Linked DNA regions of Homo sapiens: all the other regions are linked to region 1. Evidence: promoter capture Hi-C in 16 types of primary human blood cells and fetal thymus (Javierre and others, 2016). All regions are on one chromosome and are shown on one strand. Each heading gives the region's core, a stretch centred on a gene start or on the middle of the fragment in contact. The rest is flanking DNA. Distances are from core to core; before and after follow the strand shown. Region 1 holds the start of KCNK17 (potassium two pore domain channel subfamily K member 17). Region 2 has its middle 11 kb from the start of SAYSD1. Region 3 has its middle 14 kb from the start of SAYSD1.

What was found. Contacts are between HindIII fragments. The CHiCAGO score rates a contact against its expected background, and 5 or more counts as called.
Region 2: a contact is called between a fragment that was not itself captured here and the fragment with the promoter of KCNK17 in region 1, in 2 of 17 cell types (megakaryocytes and monocytes). The highest score is 5.2, in megakaryocytes.
Region 3: a contact is called between a fragment that was not itself captured here and the fragment with the promoter of KCNK17 in region 1, in 2 of 17 cell types (activated CD4 T cells and megakaryocytes). The highest score is 5.4, in activated CD4 T cells.

What each region holds. Positions count from the first base shown.
Region 1 is chr6:39,311,616-39,315,668 of GRCh38, reverse strand. It overlaps KCNK17 (potassium two pore domain channel subfamily K member 17), which reads left to right and starts at 1,250. Exons shown (of 5, transcript NM_031460.4): 1 at 1,250-1,585. The coding sequence starts at 1,349. LOC105375047 (a long non-coding RNA gene) reads right to left here and starts at 1,713. Exons shown (of 3, transcript XR_926774.3): 1 at 1,445-1,713. It also overlaps a transcript of KCNK16 not described here. The HindIII fragment of the contact is 16,119 bases long and covers 179-4,053 here.
Region 2 is chr6:39,124,103-39,128,137 of GRCh38, reverse strand. No RefSeq gene overlaps it. Among named protein-coding and RNA genes, the nearest start is that of SAYSD1, 11 kb to the right of the region's middle. The HindIII fragment of the contact is 1,899 bases long and covers 994-2,892 here.
Region 3 is chr6:39,099,099-39,103,266 of GRCh38, reverse strand. No RefSeq gene overlaps it. Among named protein-coding and RNA genes, the nearest start is that of SAYSD1, 14 kb to the left of the region's middle. The HindIII fragment of the contact is 1,803 bases long and covers 1,085-2,887 here.

The sequences.
Region 1 (4,053 bases), core at 1-2,500:
GAATGGCTGGCAGGGAGCATCAAAGAGAGGGGAGACCTGGGCAGAGACTTTGGAACAATCTTAGTGAAAAGAGGATCTCTGCCCTCAGGAAGCTCTCAGCCGAGGGGCAGGCGAGCTGCCTCTCAAAGCTCGCCAGCTCCCCTTGCCTAGAAGTCCAGGGCTGTCTGTGAACAAAGCTTAGGACCTCTTGGGTGTCCTACCCACTTTCCTGAACATGGCCTCCCCTGACCCTCACAGGCCACCCCCTTAACTTCATCACTCCCTCTGGGCTCCTGCCTTCTCAAGAGCCTTTCCAAACACCCCATGGGAAGCCAGAGAGCCAGCAGATCCCAGGATCCTTCCAGAAAGTGAGCTCCATGAACGTCTGGCCTCTCTCAGGAATGCATTCTCCAGGTCTGGCCTTTCCCCTGCCAGACTGCAACATCCCTGACCAGGAGAGATTTAGACCACTCCATCCCGGGGCCTGGAAATTTTGGCCTTTGCCTCTCCCATCATCCAACAGCAAGTGGGCTCCTATGTGGCTGGGTTCCTCTGCACAGGTCTGAGGCAAGGCTGTGGAGCCAAGGCGGCTCCAGGCAGGAGACCCAGGAGAGGCTCTACAGCAGCAAGAGGAGTCCAAGTCACACCCCAGGACTTCCCCATATCCAAGAAAGGACTGGGAAGCTGAGGACCCACGGACTCTTCACACAGCCTAGACGCTTCCTCCACTCCAGGTAGAGGGATTTCGGGGGCCTTCTCAGAAGCAAGGAGTGGACAAGCCTCTTGGTTAAGGCTCCTCTTACCTCCCAAGCTCATGGACAAGTGGCAATCAGCTGGGGTCCCTCTTTTGGGGTACAAAGGAAAGGACAGAGGTGTGGGAGACCCAAGGTGGTCTTGAGATTGACAGACAGCAAGTCCTTGGAGATAGCCCCCGAGTCCAAGAACTTAGGCAGGGGCCCCAAGACAATAAAGTTGGTCTCTACTATCTCCTACCTCTGAGTGCGGTTTCCAGAAGTCCCTCCCATTGTTCATTTCAGGAAATGTGAGGGGGCTCTGGGCCCCTTCCCTCAGCGCCTGCGGTCACCCAGCAGCTTCCTCCTTCTCCCTGGCCTAGGCCTAGCAGGTGGGCACCCCGCACACATTTGAGGCGGGGCCAGATGCCCACAGTTCAGAGCCTCTTTTTGTCCCGGGGATTGGATCCCAGGGCTGGGTGGGGCCAGGCTGTCCCATTCCCCAACACTCCTCCTCCCCGGCGAAACCGGGCACCAGCAGGCGTTTGCGAGAGGAGATACGAGCTGGACGCCTGGCCCTTCCCTCCCACCGGGTCCTAGTCCACCGCTCCCGGCGCCGGCTCCCCGCCTCTCCCGCTATGTACCGACCGCGAGCCCGGGCGGCTCCCGAGGGCAGGGTCCGGGGCTGCGCGGTGCCCAGCACCGTGCTCCTGCTGCTCGCCTACCTGGCTTACCTGGCGCTGGGCACCGGCGTGTTCTGGACGCTGGAGGGCCGCGCGGCGCAGGACTCCAGCCGCAGCTTCCAGCGCGACAAGTGGGAGCTGTTGCAGAACTTCACGTGTCTGGACCGCCCGGCGCTGGACTCGCTGATCCGGGTCAGGGGCGAGCGGCGTCGGCCTGGGCGCGGCGGGATGGGGTAGCGGGCCGCGGGGTGTACGGGCCGAGGGCGAGGGGGCCTATTCAGGCCCTGGTCAGGTGTTTCCTGTTCAGGGAAACGTCGGGAACGCAGACGCGGGCACAACGGGGGTGGGCGTTCCTGCGCGGGGACCAGAGGGTTGGGGGACCTCGGAGGAAAAGACCCTCGCCCTAGCGAGAGGACTGCGAGAAGCCGGGCTGAGTCCTACTTGGGGGCGAGAGGGCATGCTGGCCCGGTGAGGAGGCAGATGCCTGGGGACACATCCAAATTTGGGGGCGAGGACGACTACGGCAGGGGGCGCGCGCGTAACCGGCCCCGCCCGGCCTGACCCGGGAAAGGGCGCGTTTGAGCCTGCTTGGGGGTTGGTCGCACCCGCACCCGTGGCAAAGAGCTAAACGCCACACCTGGCCGCTTCCAGAGGGGGAACCCGGGCGCACGTTTGCGAACTGGGAGCTGGGACGGCAGGGGCGCCGGGTCTAAGGATGCGCAGGAGCGAGGGCGCGGCCGTAGGAGCCTGGGGGAAGGCGCGTTTGTCCCGGAGGGTGGGTGGATTGGGCCCGAGGCGTGCTGGTCGGGGCCACCCTCAACGCAGAGAGGGGGCTCGACGTGCGCAGACCCGGGTTCGAGAGGAGGGCGGACGCAGGGCCGCTCTCTGGCTGAACCCGCTTTACTCCGAGTCTTCGGACACAAGGACTGGGCGCGCCGCCGCCGCGCGGCTGCCCAGAAAGGCTGAAGGCAGGGTTCAGGGGAGGACTCAGAGGTAAATCTGAGCAGAGGCTCCTCAAGGGTGGGGCCTAGCAGGGCGGAGGAGGCCGGGGAGGGTTCTAGGGGTGGCGCATCTTAGGACTGAAGCGACGCCAGACTGGCAGCTGCTCGATTTGGCGGAGGCATTGATGTCCTGGGTCCTGGCTTGGTTCCCCACCCCTTCGTCCAAGAGCCCAGAGTCCAGACAGCTGCGCGCCAGCCCAGAATCCCCGTCTTGCAGTCCTGGTGGCTTATCCGTCCAGAGTCTCCAGTCCAAAGCCAATCCCCGGAAGGTGGCAGGGAACCGTGCCAGGGTGGGAAGGGACCCAGCGCGGAGCGGAAGTGGTGTTCTGAACCCTCGGACTAGGCCGATTCGGTGAGGTCAGGAGGTAGCCAGGGCCAGGCCTATCTCTACTAAGGACCTAAAGTGATTCCTCCAGCTCCCCACCTGCGGACTTCTGCAAATACAGCCCGACTGCTGGGTCCTGGTGCTGAGGCTGCCTGCCATTACCCTTGCAAAGGTGGTGAACTTCGACTACAAGCAGCCTGGGCCCAGGGAGATGGCTATGATGGTGATTATAATAACAGTAAATGCCTCTGTGCAGCACTTATCGTGTGCCAAGCACTGTTGCTGGTACTTTACCCGTATTCATTTGTCTCACCTCCCTCACAGGTGGGTACTGTTTTTATCATCCTGTTTCACCCTCACAGGTGGGTACTGTTTTTATCATCCTGTTTCAGAGGTGAAGAAACAGGCTCAGAGAGGTTACATACGAATGCATGGCTACATAGCCAGGAGCTGGAGCTGTTAACCAGCATAAATACTGCCTCAGTGTGGACCTGTGGATGTGGGTGCTTCCCAAGATTCCCAGCCAGGCTGTCATCTCTTTGGGCTTTCCCTTCAACTCCCTCCACCCCCACCTCACCCCCTTCCTCAACACTCCTGTGGCTTCAGCCAACTCCAGGAATAAGGATGTGGTATCCAGCCCAGATCTTTCTGAGCACCAGATGTGGACATGCAACTTCTGAAATTCCTCAAGGCCAAGAGCAAGTGGTCCTCCTCCTCCCAGCCCTGCTTCTCCACCTGTCCTAAATCTCGATTGTCTGCCCCATGTCCACACACCCTCACAATCCTCTGCAACATCTCCTTTACTGCCCATACTAAATAGGGCCAGAGGCCTGGGCTTCTGAATATCTCCTCTCTGTTCCTCCTGGACCACCTGTGCCAGGAGACAGGCCAGGGCCCGTCTATCACTCACTTCTGCAGGAGTCTCTCCCCTCTGGTCAACCCTTTCTATACTGCCAGCTGCCACAGAGCACACAAACCTGATCCTACTTCCCCTTTGCTCAGTGACCTTGGCTGATACCTGCGACTTCATCCCTGGCATGGCAAAGCCAAGCACAGCTTGGCCTCAATCACTTCTTACCAGTCTCCCTAATCTAGGTCCCAGGCAGTCTCACCTCCCACCTTCTGCACTGCTGTCCCATCTACCTAAACATCCTTCCACCAGAAGCAATCCTACCTGACCCTCAAAGGCCCAGCTAAAACATCCCATTCTCCATGAGGCCTCTGCTCCTACCCAAATGAGAATGAACATCCTTCTTCCCCAGAGTCCTACAACATTATATGCCTATATAATGCATATAGGCAATATAGCAACTGCTAACACCATGTGCCAGGTA
Region 2 (4,035 bases), core at 694-3,193, 190 kb after region 1:
TAGAGGATGCACTTCGTGTTGGGAGATTATATCTGAAAGAACCAAAGCCAGGCCCAGGAACAAGGCCTGAGGAGCTTCCTGAAGAAGGAAATGTAGAAGCCAAGTATGTGAGATGAGTGGCACTTGGCATGTGAGGAAGGGAAACAAGTTGGGATGTTTGAGAAACTGTAGTTTAGCATTGCTAAAGGGTGGGGTATTAGTGGTCAGTGGGAAGTAATGAGGCTGGGGCTTGGGAGTGGGGTTTGTGTGGGAAAAGGAAAGGTGTAGTGGCATGATGAAGGTTCCAATCAGAGACTCCCCCCACCACATGTAACCCCTCACTACAGAACACTCCACCATGGAAATGTCTACCATAGAACCCCCAACCATGGAATCCTCCACCATGGGGCCCTCCACCATGGAATCCCTCACCACAGAGCCTTCCATGTCTTTAGCAGCTCTGGGTGAGGAAGGAGCCTGAAGCCAAAGATAAGTGCTATCTAGTTCCCCCTACTATTTGCTTCCTAATGAAGAACTCAGATTCACAGAGGGGCTTAGTCCATTGTCCTGACCAGCTGGATTTCTTCTGAGGTAGACAGAAATCCCTGTGTCTCCTATAGACTGTGGAGACTGTGGGAGCCTGGCTGACAGGCTTCTCAATACCCCTTCAAAGTTATATCAATGACTGCGTATATTTAACCCAAGCCCTATTAAGATAATTGGAAAAAGAGGTTTATTTTGGTTCAAATAATCCCAAAAGAGTGATGGGAGACAGGGGAGAAAGCAGGCGAGGAAGCCATCCCATCAGTTGTTTTTTTTTTAATATGGAAACAATTTCAACTAGCTCAGATGAATAGTGTCTTCCCTAATTTAAAAGCCTATTAAGGCACCAATTCTCAATATGCATTCCAATTCCTTTGGGATAGGAGGATCTTCTTTTCCTCCCGCTGTGTCTTCCCAGGACTTTGGTCATCTACTGAGCTTGGACTATGCCGGTTTCATACCTTTTAAGCTTCCTGTGTACTGCTAGGTACTCCCCATCAGGTCACCTCATTCTATCAGTCTTCTTGTGAGGTATCATCCCCATTTATAAATAAAGAAACAGACAAATAAAAATTAGAAGCTACTTAAGTACTTACTTTTACTGTTTGATGGGTTATCACTTATGGATGTTGGTTTTTGGTGGTGGTTGTTGTTGTTGTTGTTGTTTTGTTTTTGTTTTGAGATGGAGTCTCACTCTTGTTGCCCAGGCTGGAGTGCAGTGGTATGATCTCAGCTCACTGCAACCTCCGCCTCCCAGGTTCAAGCAATTCTCCTGCCTCAGCCTCCTGAGTAGCTGGGATTACAGGTGCACCCCCCACCACAACCAGCTAATTTTTGTATTTTTAGTAGAGACGGGGTTTTGCCATGTTGGCCAGGCTGGTCTCGAACTCCTGACCTCAGGTGATCTGCCTGCCTTGGCCTCCCAAAGTGCTGGGATTACAGGCATGAGCCGCCGTGCCTGGCCTGTTTTTTTGTTTGTTTGTTTGCTTGTTTGTTTGTTTGTTTGTTTGTTTTTGAGACAGAGTCTTACTCTGTCACCCAGGCTGGAGTGCAGTGGCATGATCTCAGCTCACTGCCACCTCTGTCTCCCAGGTTCAAGCGATTCTCCTGCCTCAGCCTCCCGAGTAGCTGGGATTACAGGCACGCACCACCACACCTGGCTAATTTTTGTATTTTTAGTGGAGATGGGGTTTCACCATGTTTGCCAGGCTGTCTTGAACTCCTGACCTCAGGTTATCTGCCCACCTTAGCCTCCCAAAGTGCTGGGATTACAGGCGTCAGCCACCGCGCCTAGCCTGGATGTTGATTTTTACTCATGGAACCACTATTTAGGTCAAGAACTAGAACTTTGTAAACCCCCCTCACCAAATCATTAACTCCTCCCTCCCCACCTCTCTGAAGCCAGGTTCCAAATTTGTACTTTCTCTCTTACTCCATACCACTTCCCTGAGATTCTCTCTTTACAAAAAGGAAATAGAACAATAAGGAGAATGAGTGACTTTCCTATGATTGTGTAGATAACGTCAGAGCTGGGACTTGAACCCATGTGTGCAAAGTCCTCTTATCTTGGTTGACTTCTTCCTCTCAGCTTACCTAAGTCCTTTCAATCTTTCAAGGCCAAATACCATGCTTCTCCGTGGAGTCGTTTAGACCTCCCCTGCCTCACTGATCTCTTCCTCTACCTGGTAAGTTCCTGCTCTGTCTGTCCCACTGATAAGACACTTAGCAATAGTTTCTGGCATTATTTCTCATTTTGCATTCTTGTTTCATCTTCTCCATGATTTCATAAGTTTTTCTGGAACTCGAGGACCACAACTTATACCTGTTTGTCTTCCCAGAACCTTGAAACTGATCTGCACATAGAATAGACAGGATAGTGGGTTCCTGGGCTCTGCTCTGGAGTCAGACTCCCTGGGTTCAAAACCTGGTCCTGCTAGTTGCTTGCTGTGTGACATCAAACTATGGAATCTGCTCACATGCCTTCCTGAAGAGTTGTTGAGAAAATTAAAGTACATAATAATTTTCAAGTGGTCAGCACAGTGTCTGGCACACATTAATCACTCCACAAAGGCCAGATATTATTAGGAGCCCAATTTGTTGTTAATAGTGAATGACTCAACTGGTTCTCAAGGTTAAAATATATATATATGTGTGTGTATATATATATATTTGGGCCCTAAACCCTGGTGTTTAGTCAAGACTCTAGAAGGTCAATGGTTGAAGAGAAATGTAAGGCTGAAGCAGGAGCTTCCAAGGAGGTGGCTAAGCAGGCGATATTTTTCGAGTCAGGAAATATACTTCTCTGGATGTATGTACATGTATTTTAGTGAAATGGCCCATTTCTTCCAAGGACTTTATAGGACAAAAGCTTGCCTTCCTTCTGACTTTATTCCCATACAAAATCATGAGGAAGCAGGCTCTTATAAAACACACAATTCCTATGGTTTTCTTCAGGTGCATTGTCAACCTGCAAAGAGATTCTTCTCCAACTACTTTCAGTTAGTTTGGGGGAGAGTTTTGGGATGGGATTTACATATAGATCATTTTTGTTGCAAGCCTGTGAGCTTTAGGTCATCTGTTCTGCAGGCCACAGGAGGCATTTCTCTGAGTATCAGAGCTAAGCACAATGGAACTTGGACATAAGGCAAGTCAGGTGGTTAGGAAATTGTCAAAACCTAAGATCTTGGAATTTACAGGGAGTTGAGATGTAGAGGAGGAAAATGGAGAAGCTTCAGGTAATAGGATTGGGCAGACTGATGGGGACAAATAGTAGAGACTGTTGAGCTCTTTCAGAACACAAGATCCCAGTCACGGGGGGGTTACAAAAAGGCAAAGTTCAAGCCAGCAATAAGTGTCAGGAAAAGCAGTTGTAACCACAAAGCCAAGAGTAAGTGGGGGCAGAAGGGTCATGAACCATTACCTTTCATGCAAAAGATAATTATAAAGCATCAAACTATCACCAGAAATATTTAATGTCTATAGCAATGCCCATGAATTATATCATCTCATCAGCTTTCCCTCTCTGGGCCTCAGTTTCCCCATATTTGAATCTGAAGAACTCCCAGCTTGAGTTAGTGCCCCTCCTCTGTTCCCCAGACCTCTGTGTTATAACTGTCTATCAGTGAGTCTGTCTCTCTAACTATACCTTGAATTCCTAACAGTAGGACTGTATTTTATTCATGTCTGCATCCTCAAAGCCTGGTCCAGGGCCTGGCATATAACAGGTGTTCCATCAATATTTGCTGACTAAATGGTCTCTAAATTCCTTGGAGGACAGACTCATAGAATGACTGAATCAGTTATTCTAGGACTCTGACCTCTGCAGAGTTCAAGATAAAGTGAGAGCTAAAAAACCTTGCCAGCAGCAGTCCAGCAGCAGCAGTGCAAAGCAGGCTGCTTCAGTTGAAGCACTATAGCCCTCTGCTTCCCATCCTCTCTCTTAACTTCTTTATTACCATTTCCAAATATCTTCTTTGGTGACAGTCTAAAGTCCTGTTTTGCTTGCTTCAAACA
Region 3 (4,168 bases), core at 737-3,236, 210 kb after region 1:
CTACATCTAAAGTTGGAAGGGACCCCAAAATACCATCAAGTGTGTTCCCCACCCCCAACCTTGGGCAGGGCCATCATTTATTCCCAACTAAAGATAATTTGTTTCTAGTGAACCCCTAAAGAAGATTCCAGGTACTTCCTAGGAAGTTCTTTATGTTTACTGAAAGAACTTTTGCCACCCCCATCCCCGCCATCTGGGGTTATTTTGTCTCCTAATCTCAGTGGATGTGGAGTCCCTGGAGGCCTATGTGAGCATCCTTCACACTGGTAAACCTTTACTCAGTTCTCTTTTCTCTCTGCTCTTTAGGCCAAGTCATTGAGCTATACCTCTGGGACTCAATCACTTTCATGCTAGCCCTGACCTATTCTAAGTGTTTCAGGTTTGGGTGGGGGTGAGTGGCCCTGTGGATGGGTATAATGATCTTTCTCAAAAGCTTTGGAGCTTTGCCAGTGATGACTTAGGCATGTGTATTTTGTGCTATTAGAGTTATGCTTTGAGTATAGGCTGTCTTTCACATTTGCCTTTTGACTGATCTGTGCGTCAATCAAAAAGCTCTGTGCTGCAAAATCTTAGAAAGTTACAGAATTGAAAGAACCAGTGACCCTCAGTTGGGCAGAAGACATCAAAATTCGAGCTGTGTGTTTTTAGTTCCTGCCACTCATACCAGCAAATATTTGTAGATGCCCTGGATTTGGCGCTGCTGGGGACACACACATATGAGCTCCTGCATAGGATGAGCGTCCCTAAGAGCCCGGGGATGCAGGGGTGGGGTTGGGATGTCATGAAGCATGTTGCCGCCAGGCGGTGGCGTAGAGCTGCCACTATACCTCACGGGTCCCTTCACATCACACTTGAAAATTTACGTAATGTGGAAAACCCTCTGGGATGTTTATCTCAACCGCTTGTGCTGCTTTTTCAGATGTTTTTTTCAGTTTAAAACTCACAGAGGAAAGGGCCCATCAGAGGTCCTGGGAAAGGCATAGAAAGCTACCAGAAGTGATTTATATATGTATTTAAAAATAAAACAGCAGCCCCTCTCTAGACTTAGCAGGCAGTGTTACAGTTGCTTGCACATAGCTAAGCTTTGCGGGAAGGGGAGGTGGAATGACTAAGAATTTACATAGTTGGCAGAGAAAACCAACTCCCTAAGCCAAAGAAAGTAACTTTTGAACCATATGCTTTGGTTTCTATCACACATAATTTTATTTCACAACTTTGGAGCACTAGGCTACATAAAGACTTGGATCCCATTCTCAAAAATCTGAGAGAGAAGACAAGATGAGTGCACACAAACTGTATTATAAAGTACAGGACATAATGTGAATGTTTATAAAGGTGTAAGGTGTGTGTGTGTGTGTTCAAGGGAGAGATCACTTGCAGTCCTAAATTCTATACTATATAGGATTTTCACTTCTATGTGAAAAATACTCTTTCCTTAACAAGTCATGGATGAACGTTTTGAAAAGTATGGTCTATAGACCACGCACCTGCATAGGAATCTCCTGTAGTAATGTTAAAATGCAGATTCCAGGGCCCCCACTGACTCAGAATGTCTGAGGGTAGAATCCTGAGAATCTGCATTTTAACAGCCTCCCAGGTGTGATCTCTGGCACAATAAAGATTAAGAGCCGCTGACGTAAACAATAAATGTTAAAATAGGAAGAAAATTTAGTGATTATTAGATCCAAGCAAAGAAAATTGGTGTGCATTTTTAAAGGGAGCAATGAGGCTTGCTATTTTTCAAACTGTTCATTTGGAACACCAAAGCGAGAGACGAAGAAACATAGCTTTAAAACAATGAGGAGCTAACTCCAAAGACTACGTGGAAATTAAGTCCTTTATTTTTGAGGTTTTCTCTAAATGATTACAACAAGAAGTACATGCTCATTTTAGAACATTTTGGAAATACAGGAAGGAATAAAATATTGTTGTACTTCTATGCATATATTTTAGAAGCCAAGAGGTACATGGGGTGTATAGTGAGAACATCTCCCTCCACCCTGCCATGTTTGTTCTTTCTCAAGCCTGCAAATGACACCATTCTAAACACGCTATTCTTTCCCTTGCTTTCTTTTTCTTTCTTAGGAGTTTGAGTTTTATTTATGTGCATTTGAAGTTTTTATGTAAGGGAGTGATATGATCCAATTTACTTTTTTTTTTTTTTTTTTTTTTTTGAGAGACAGAGTCTCACTCTGTCACCCAGGCTGGAGTGCAGTAGCATGATCTGCCTCCCAGGTTCAAGCAATTCTCCTGCCTCAGCTTCCCAAGTAGCTGGGACTACAGGCATGTGCCACAACACCCAGCTAATTTTCGTATTTTTAGTAGAGATGGGGTTTCACTATATGCTGGCCTGCCTGGTCTCAAACTCCTGGCTTCAGGTGATCTGCCCACCTCGGCTTCTCAAAGTGTTGGGATTACAGGCATAAGCCACTGCAGCCGGCCCCCAATTTTCATTTCTAAAAGATCATCCACGCTATGGTGGGGAGTAGATTATCTATGTCATTCATTCATCCATCCATCTATCCATTTACAGAGCATCTAAACTTTGCCAGTCCTGGTGCTGGGCGTAGCTCATACAGACATAAGGCAGACAAGGTTCCTTTTCTCAAGGAGCTCACAGCAAATGGGGGAGGTAGCCAATAACCAGACAGTTACAGTGCAGTGTGGTAAGCCACACTGAGTATGTCGTCTGAACGAGGACCACAGCATCAAAAGAGGATCTTAAATCACAGGTCAGGAAAGGCTTCCTGGAGGCAATGACACTGTGCTGAGTTTAAAGGAGGACTAGGTACTCCCCCAAAAAAGAAGGTGGGGGCAAAAAGTAGCATTTTGGTCAGAGAAAACCACCTGGGAGAAAGGTGATAATCATGAAGGAGAATAACAAGCTTGGATGCATTCTGAAGACTTGGATGTTTAGGAACAAATAAAAGGAATTGATGAGAGGCAATTCCAGAAAGGAATATTGAGTGCCTCTTGCTTTTTGAGCAAACAATATTTCTTAATAATTACATCAGCACAAATAGAGCTGCTTCCTGCTTTTTCACAGCTACAGAGTGTACCATTGTATGGATAGATTATAACTCAACAAGTCTCCATTAATGTATATTTAGGTAGTTTCTAATCTTTTGTTGTTGCAAACAATGTACAACAAATATCCTTGCACATATGTCATTTCGACATATGGGAATACTTCTCTGGGATAATGTCTTAGAATTAGATTTGCTGGCAAAAGGATATTTGACTGAAAATGTTGATAGATGTTGCCCTGCGTAGAAGTGATTCTTATTTACATTCCTACCAGCAATGTATGAAAATGCCAATTTCCTCATATCCTCACCAACACAGGGTGTTTTCCCAACTTTCTGTACTTTGCCAATATCTGAGAAGTGAAATGACACCTCATAGTTTTAATTTAAATTTCTTATTATGGGAGAACATCTTTCTATAAATTTGTGAGCCATTTGTATTTATCTGTGAACTCTTTTAGCTTTTGCGTGATTTCTGTTGAGTTCTTGGGAATTTTAAAATTTCATTTAGGAACTCTTCATAAATGAAGAAAATTGGCTCTTTGAATTATGCATTTCAAATATTTTTGCTCAATTTGTTCAAACTTGTTGCCGTTTTTGTTTCTGTGTGGAAATTTTTTGTTGTCAAATTTATGTATTTTATGACCTGGGTTTTTGTCATACGGCAAAAAAATTTCCATGTTTACCCATTGCTTTCATTTTCTATATTTAAGTTTTTTATCTATAGTATTTAGTTTGGAGTGGGGTTACAGATAGGGATCCAGCTTTATTTATTCAGGCATCTATTTGTTCAGGTATCTAGTTCCCTCAGGTTTATTTATTAAATAACCCATCTCTTTCCTGCTAATTTAAAACCCTTCTGTATCATATACCACATTTCTTGTGTATTTGTATCTATTTTGGGCTTTCTGGTCTGTTCTTTTGATCTGACAGCTTTTTCACTTTTTATTATTGTAGCTCTTTAGTGTGTTTTAAAATCTGAATGGGCTAGACACCTCTTTATTACTCTTATTTTTGCTTTCTTTTTTAAAACTTACACTTAACATGTTTATTTTCTCCCTGAGTTCTTTAGAATTAACTTGACCAGGTCCCCAAAATTTCTCTTGATATTTTCATTAGTTTCACATTAAATTTACAGATAA